Regions from separate parts of the Homo sapiens genome. Here region 2 is linked to region 1. Evidence: promoter capture Hi-C in human tissues and cell types (Jung and others, 2019). All regions are on one chromosome and are shown on one strand. Each heading gives the region's core, a stretch centred on a gene start or on the middle of the fragment in contact. The rest is flanking DNA. Distances are from core to core; before and after follow the strand shown.

Region 1 (4,059 bases), core at 1,132-3,631:
ATCTCAACCACGCTGTATGGATGGAGAAACTGCGTCTTGGGGCTGTACCATGCTATGCACCTGTAGAAAATGTTTTTGCCTTTTCAGTCCTTTCCCAGTGGCGGAGTACAGGACCCAGCTCATAAGAGCAGCTCAATTCTGTCATTTGTGGAATGACAGAATAAATAAGTTTCAGGGCCTAGGGAGGCAAGGCTCCTGCCTTAGCCTCCCAAGTAGCTGGAACTACAGCTGCATGCCACTAAGCCCACCTGATTTTTTATTTTCTTGTAGAGATGATGTCTCATTATGTTGCTCAGACTTTTCTGGAACTCCTGGGCTCAAGCAATCCTCCCACCTCTGCCTCTGAAGTAGCTGGGACTACAGGTACTTGCCACCAGGCCTGGCTAGCTTTCATCTTTTTTGTAGAGATGGGACATCACTATGTTGTGAAGGCTGGTCTCAAACTCCTGGACTCAAGAGAGGCTTCTGCATTGGCCTCCCAAAGTGCTGGGATTACAGGTGTAAGCCACTCTACCTGGACACAACATTTTATTTGAAATAAGAAAAATTTTCCCTCACTGGGAATGCTGCAGTTGAACTAGTTCAAATCCATAAAGAATGGAAGACTGCCCAGTGGTCATTCATTCACTTATTAATTCTAGATGTTAAATTTTCTAGGGTGGGGGAATGTGCTCCTACATTCAAGGCATTCTTGAATGTAGCCAAACTTTGTAGTTTAGCCAAACTTCATAGCTAATAGCCAAACTTTGTAGTTTAGCCAAACTCTTCTAGCAGCAAAACCCATGACACTGGAACTCTGTTCTTCACACTGGTCATTTGTAATAGAATAACAGAGCTTTAGCACTAGATAGGTTCTGAAAGATCATTGAATCTAATCCTCTCCCTTTGCCAGTGAGAATTCTGAAGCCCAGATTTGTTGATTTGTGATCGATAGTGTCAAAGACAGGCCTGAAACACAGATGTCCTGGGTCCTAGAGGTGCTGTTTGCCCCTCTCCATATTTCTTTTGTTCCAGAAAACCCTTCTCCAAAACTGGCCCTAATAATCAGAGGGGAAAGCCATGGCCCCTGCCTTGGGGACAGCATGGGTTGGCACAGAAAAGAGGTTTACAATTCAGCAGGAAGTGTTGTGCGTGCGCGCGTGTGTGTCTGTGGAGGCGCAGGGAGGGTCACCTGAGCTTGCCCTGGGTCTGGTCCTGGGCTCAGTGGCAAATTCAACGCTGGGCAGGTGGCCTGAGGACAATGACGGTGCCAGCTGTGAGTCAGACTTCCTTTATTCATAAAATCATGTTCCTCCATGCAGTGCTTCTCAACCTGGCTGCACGTCAGGAGCCACCTGGGTAGCTTTGTAAAAACCCCAATGCCCAGTTGGTTTGCACCCCCTGAGATTCTGATTAAACTGTTCTGGAGTCCATCTCTCTCTTTTTATTATCTATCTATTTATTTATTTTTTAATTTGGCGGCTCCTCTGGGACTTCTCATATGCAGTAGGGGTTGAGAATTGCTGGTTTCTTTGGCCAGATGGGAACATGCAGGCCAATAGTTACGCACAAACAGAGCAGCAGAGCAGGACGGTGCTAAGGTTGGAAAGGGTGAGTCATGAAAGTTCAGGAAATCAGAATAGGAAGGGGTGAGAATCCTCTCATCTGGGCTTGTGGGGCAGGAGAGAAGAGCCCAGTGGGCAAGGTCCAGTGAGTGTGCTTAGAACTGGGAAGATGAGGGGAAGGGTAAGCGCTGGGCGGCGGTGGGCAAGATGGACGAGATTAAACGGGAGCGAGGATTTCAGCGAGAGCTTTGGCGACACGGAAGGCTGAGAATCGGAGGGAGCCTGTCGGGCGAAAGCGAAGGCGGCTGCTGGGCAGGCAGCCGAATCCGGCTGGAGAGCCGAGCTGGTGAGACCTACAGGAAGTGAAGGGAGTCGCTCAGGGCGTGGCGCAACGAGACTCTTAGAAGAAACTCTGAGGCAGAGATGGGGGGCCTCCGCCCATACGGAGACACAAGGAAGTCCACATGCACACGCACGAGCGCGCACATGAACACGCACAAGCACACAAACGCCTCCTCCGGGCAGGGCACACGCGCCCGCTGCACAGGCCGAGGCCCTGGACTCGGAGGGGACTGCAGAGCCGACCCACAACCCGGGCCCCGATGCCCCTCCCGGCCGCGCCCCTACGACTGCTTGCGCAACAGGCGGCGGCTCCAGTGGGCGCCCGCCGCGCGCTGCCGGAGCCCAGCCCAGCCCGGCGCGCCCGGGAGGAGGGAGCAGGGAGCGGGGAAGGGGTGTGTCCCGGCTGCGTGCTGGGACTGCGAGGGTCTGGGAGGGGCGAGGCGCGGGGGCGGGGCCGCGGCGCCTATAAAGTCGCCCTCCGCCCGGACGTAAACAAACCTCGCCTGGCTCCCAGCTGGTGCTGAAGCTCGTCAGTTCACCATCCGCCCTCGGCTTCCGCGGGGCGCTGGGCCGCCAGCCTCGGCACCGTCCTTTCCTTTCTCCCTCGCGTTAGGTAAGCCCGCGCCCTCTTCTCCCAGGCGCGACGCGGAGCAGAAAGGGGCCGCCCGTGCGGTGCCGCTGGAGCGCCAGGACCGCCCTTTGTAGCCCCGCGTACTCCAGGAGTAAGCGCCCCGGAGCTGCAAGTGCGCGGTCACCCCGGGGCGCGGGCGCGAGGGGGCTTTGGGTGCAGACACCGCTGAAGTGGGGGGTTCAATTACGGAAAGGGAGGAAAAAAAGACAGGGTCCCATTCATCTCCCCCCTAGCTGGGGATTGGGGTTCTGGAGGTCGGGAAGGGGGCGATGAGACGGTCCGAAAAAATACCAGGATAGCGTTTCCTGGCGTCGTCTCCGAATCCCAGCTGGCGCCGCTGGCAGGGGTGCGCGCTGGACGTGGGTGCAGAAGGGACTAGGTGAGTGTGTGTGTGTGTGTGTGTGTGTGTGTGTGTGTGTGTCTGTGTCTGGGAACGGAGAGATTGCGCGCGAGTGTGTAGATGAGGGGTTGGTAGAGGTGAGTGGCGCTGGCAAGGAGGCTGGAGAGGGGGGCGTGGGTGTGTCTGGCTTGCAGACTGGGTCGGGAACGGGTGTGGATCCGAGAGGCTGGTGGCGCTTCAGTCCCGTAGCACACACAGGGCGGTGTGCATGTGTGAGTGTAAGCGTGTGTGTGGGGGGAGGGTCCAGGGTGTGTCACAGTGCAACACGCGAGCCGGAGCAAGTGTCTGCGAGCGCCACTGGGCAGGGTGCGCCCCCGGAGGAACCCGGGATTGGCGCATCGGCGGCGTGGGAGAAGTGACCTGGGCGAGAGGGGTCTCGCGGACATTTGGCGGCCCCTTGAGCTGGCTGGAGCTAGGAGTGGCGTCATTTTCGCCTCCGCCCACCCTCCCCCGCTTTCCTCCCCTCCCCTGCCTCTGGTGCTGGCCGCTCCTGCCCTCCACGGGGGAAAACAGCTGGAATTACTTCGACGTTCCTGGGGGATCCGCCGCGGTCTCTGATTCAGCCTCGGGAGGAGATTTCGGGCTGGGCTTGGGGAATGCGGCTGGTTCTGGGGGAAACACGCTGTCACGCCTCTGTCAAATTAGTAGCTGGAGCTGGGATTTAGTGGGTCGGTTCCTTACCCACCCCTCCCCCATATCCCCCGCCTGTTGTCCCTGCTGTCCCTGGGGGTCCTGAACAGCACGCCTCTGTGGCTTGGAAGTGGGAGATGCCTGGCAGTGGGTGGGGGAGGCAGGGCCCTTGGTTATCTTATGCCCATCCAAGAACACCCCTTCCTCACGGACGCTGGGGGCACTTCAGTTTGTTTGGTTTCTTTAAGCTACTGGGAAATATCTAATATTCAGAAGTCAGCCAGTGGCCAGGCAGGAGGGCGGTAGACATCCTTATAATACCCATCAGCTGCACGGGACCTTCTCCTAAGCTGCCTCAAAAGAACATATCTAAATACAAACCCCCTGTTCTTGCTGCAGAAATGTAGTTTCAAGGCGAATTTTTCAGTCTAGACTCTTCCTGTTGAGAAATTCTGGCGTTCTTATTGAGTTTCACAAATGTGATTGAAATAAGCAAGGTACAGAGGGGGCAA
Region 2 (4,059 bases), core at 1,022-3,521, 510 kb after region 1:
TGACTAAGTATGATACATCACATTATTAAAATTAAATAATTGGAGTAAAGAAAGTAGCTTAACTTTCATCACGTTTGAAACTCATAAATTTTTAAATTAAGAGGAAATCTTGGATATGATATGTTACAGAACTAAGGAAAACAAAAAGTGATTTTAAAAATAAATTACATTTGCTAATCTAGGTTAACAAATATCATCTTATGTTTAGTTTTCAATCCAAAAGTCACAATGTATTTGCCATAATTTTCTGAAATGGTAACTAGGTTATTTCAAGATATCCCAAAACTTTTGTCTTCATTCATCCTTTTTAAACCCAACAAAATTCAGTAAACTTTGCTGGGCACCTTTTATGAGTAAGTTACTATGTTAAGGCCTTGTAGATACACCATTTCATATAAGTAGCTTATACTTCAGTACCCTAGCTAATCATGATGTACCAGAAATAAATTTATTTCTAATTCATGGTAACTTTTTTGGCAATAAGAAAACAGACTTTCAAGACACTCTGAATATTAAGTAAATATCTATACTCTTCCTTCAACTTTACTGCAACAATCCTCTCAAAGTTGAGGTAATTATAATTACTGAAATAACATAATACTTGCATACCAATTTCTAATTTAATAAGAAGTATATTCTTATGTGCTAACCATCTGTAGCAAGAAATGATAGGGAGTGGTCAACACTTCTTCAAAATATACAGTTACAGTAAAAATACTAAAAAACTGGGACCTTAATGAAGAACAGCAGAACTAAGCTGTCTTTTCAATATTCCGTTAATTTCTTTTAAAAATTGTACTACTGATATTCAAAACTTAAAATTAAAACTAGTATTTTCTCCCTCAGCTTAAAAGAAATCACTTAAAACCAAAATTAAAAACAGAAGCATCTGCAGATGCCATTTCTGTCTACTCAGCAAAACTAGAATTGCAAAACATTCTTTTTAGTAGAGTTAACTACCACAACAGATAAACTGTTTCCCAGCTAGTGGCTTTCATCAACCCCCAACTAAAAAATAAACCATTATCTAATGTGATGTGACAGTGTGAAATCTCATAATACATAATAACATTCGGCAGGAATGATGTAACAAATAGGGAGCTGGATGTGTGTGATACGTGATGGCTGGACTTCAACCAAATGTCAGATAAGCAAATAAAACGGTCTTTTCTCTTGTTCCAACCCTTGCCACTATACGATCACACACACATAAAGCACAGCACAGTAAGCCTGAGATTCCTGGACTTTACCCTCATTATAAATTGATGAAGGAGGCTAAGAAATCATCAGCTTGGAGGTTTGATTATGAAGTAAATTTAGGAGGAAAGCTCTCTAGGATGGATAAACTTGAAATTTACCTACCTTGCTCAAGCTCTCTAATTCCAATGAAAAAGAGTGGCATAGGCTTGCCAGACTTTCAGGGCCCTTCTAGATGCCAGACATATACTCACAACTACAATTGGTCAGAAACTACGGTGGCCCGTGAACACTGAGCCCATTTAGTTAACTGAGGCGCAAAGCTTTAGGAAATCTATGCAAGACAATGGGTTATAGTGGAGAGATCACTATATTGGGAGCCAAAAGGTTTCATGCCCAATATAGTTATATTCCAAATAGCTCAAACCTCTATATTTTTTCCAAATTATATTCAGTTTTCTACATTTTTCTCATTTTCTCCTCTAGTAGCCAGCAGTTTTGAACTACCTATGACTTTTTGTCTATCTTACCTCTGCCTCAAGTTTGTGTTATTTACCCATCTAAAAGTATGATTTAAAAAAAAAAATCTGTCATCCCTGAATAGGTGAAAATTGATAAAATGAAATTGAGTTTGGAATTCAACTGCACCTGAAAGATCATCTAAACTGTAAGACTTTCATTTCAAGGTCATTAAAGCAGAGAAATACCTCTCCAAAATCACATAGTTCATGGCAAAATAGCACTTAAAATCCATATTTTATGACTTCCAGTTTAATTTATTTTTTCCAATACTTTTGTTTTTCAAAAAAACTAGGATAAGCAGAAAAAGCTTATAAACCAGAAAGAGTTCTATAAAAAACGAATTAACATAAAAAAAGGAAGAACACTAGAGCAAGAACAACCCGAAACCAGGTGTGTTTTCAAATAAATAAGTCTTCTCTGTCCCTAAATCATGCTTTTCACATTTTTGGAGGGGTAGAGGGAAGCTTTCTTATATTTAGCATTGTTCAAAGGAATTTACGGGGCTTTCTTTTGTGGAAATTTTAAAAGTTAAAGAAGTAAAATGTTTGTGCACTGGTACAAATCTGCTTGATAATTAAACTGGATGATTCACTTTGACCTTAAGATTCAAAATTTGTGACTATCTAAATGTAAATTATCTCAGAATTTTTAAACAAAACTTACAGATTTCAAATGAATTGTCTGCAAGAAGGGTCCTTAACCTAGAGGTCATGTATACGTTTTCTATGAACTTATGACCATAGTATGTAATTCATTTATTTTGATGTATACATACAACTGTATATTTTTTCTAAGTCTACAGCTGGCATTGGTTTTCAAAGGTAATGACTCAAAATAATAATCATTACTTTCTATGTATAGACAAACTGAAAGAATCCCAAATTATGAAAAGACAAAAACTGCATGCATATTAATATTAGCAAAAGAACCTCTATTTTTGAAGTATTCACCTGGTGTTCCTACAATGCTATATTTGATCTACATGTTACACTTTAGGACCATTCTCCTACTCTAAATATAGATGACACAACTTATCTCTAGTAGCATTTTCCTTTGAATAGTTAAATCTAATTAGAAAAAAAGTAACTTTTTATTCAGAAAATGTATAATTTTATTTAAATTAACAAGTATTTGTACTTGCTACAATGTAAATTTCCTTAATTCTCCTATACTATTAAAATTCTGCACGAACATCTTAAAAACTCACATTTGCAAATGTTCCATACAGTTCAAAAAACTTCAAATGTGTGAAAACAGCATTTGCCAATTCAAATTTATACTGTTCTATTAAACTCTGATACTTGGAGATATCTCCACATTTTTTAATCTTTCATTTTCCTTTTCTTTAGATTTAGAAGAGAATTAAATAGAAATATTCCAAAAGAGTCAGAGGAGCATATCTCATCTGAATGTTTTAAATTGACTCTATATTTCAAATTTATTTTAAGATTAACACCACAGCATGTTATTTAATCTCTTGTGTTTTTGTAACAATCGCTTACTGTAGAATAACTATTTTAATTTCAATCAAAAAACAGGAGTTAAATCAGTAGTCAACGCCAGTGTGATTTTATCAGTTTTCTTACTAAACTATATTCAGAATGATTAGATACTTTAATATTTGCAAGCAAACTCTATAAAACTCTGTGGAAACATGAGGATTTTATTATCACTTCAAAAAGACTGTCTACAACTTTGGAAGAACAAGACAGATGGAAAAACTGCTTGAGCCCATGAGTTCAAGACCAGCCTGGGCAACACAGAGAGATCGCTTTCTCTACCAAAAAAAAAAAAAGAAAAAGAAAAAGAAAATCAGCAGGTTACTATGGCATACGCCTGTAGTCCCAGCTACTTGGGAGGTTGAAGCAGGAGGATGGCTTGAGCCCCGGGAGGTAAAGGCTGCAGGCTGCTTCAAGTCATGATCTCGTGACTGCACTGCAGCCTGGGTGACAGTAAAACTTTGTCTCAAAAAAAAAAGGAAAAAGAAAAAAGTGTCATCAGCTTGTTGCAATGAGATGTTTTGCCTTCTATGATTCCAAGCCACTCTCCTGTCAACTAAAGCTACCTTTAAAAACTCAATCACTTAACTCTTCAGATCCCCAAAGATTTACTTTTCTATTCTCCCTCTCCCCTTGCATTTACCTCAATGCTTTATGATTATGTACCCATCTGTAGAACTTAAAGCAATACATAATTTTATTTGAACCTTAAAAACCAACCTCTAAATAAAAGCCAGTAATACTGCTTCCATTTTACTGCTAAGAAAACCAAGTTAAAGGACTTACCCATATTTACAGGATTAATAAGTAACAGTCTGAATTTAAACCCACCCGCTTACAG

Evidence for each region. Contacts are between HindIII fragments. The study calls those that stand out against the background at their distance.
Region 2: a fragment that was not itself captured here is called in contact with the fragment with the promoter of NDRG1 in region 1 in 3 of the 25 tissues and cell types used here (bladder, hippocampus and mesenchymal stem cells).

What each region holds. Positions count from the first base shown.
Region 1 is chr8:133,295,574-133,299,632 of GRCh38, reverse strand. NDRG1 (N-myc downstream regulated 1) reads left to right here and starts at 2,381. Exons shown (of 16, transcript NM_006096.4): 1 at 2,381-2,499. RefSeq lists a silencer at 2,051-2,500. The HindIII fragment of the contact is 13,971 bases long and covers 1-4,059 here.
Region 2 is chr8:132,782,228-132,786,286 of GRCh38, reverse strand. The region is part of intron 2 of PHF20L1 (PHD finger protein 20 like 1); the gene reads right to left. Among named protein-coding and RNA genes, the nearest start is that of PHF20L1, 8.9 kb to the right of the region's middle. The HindIII fragment of the contact is 4,511 bases long and covers 16-4,059 here.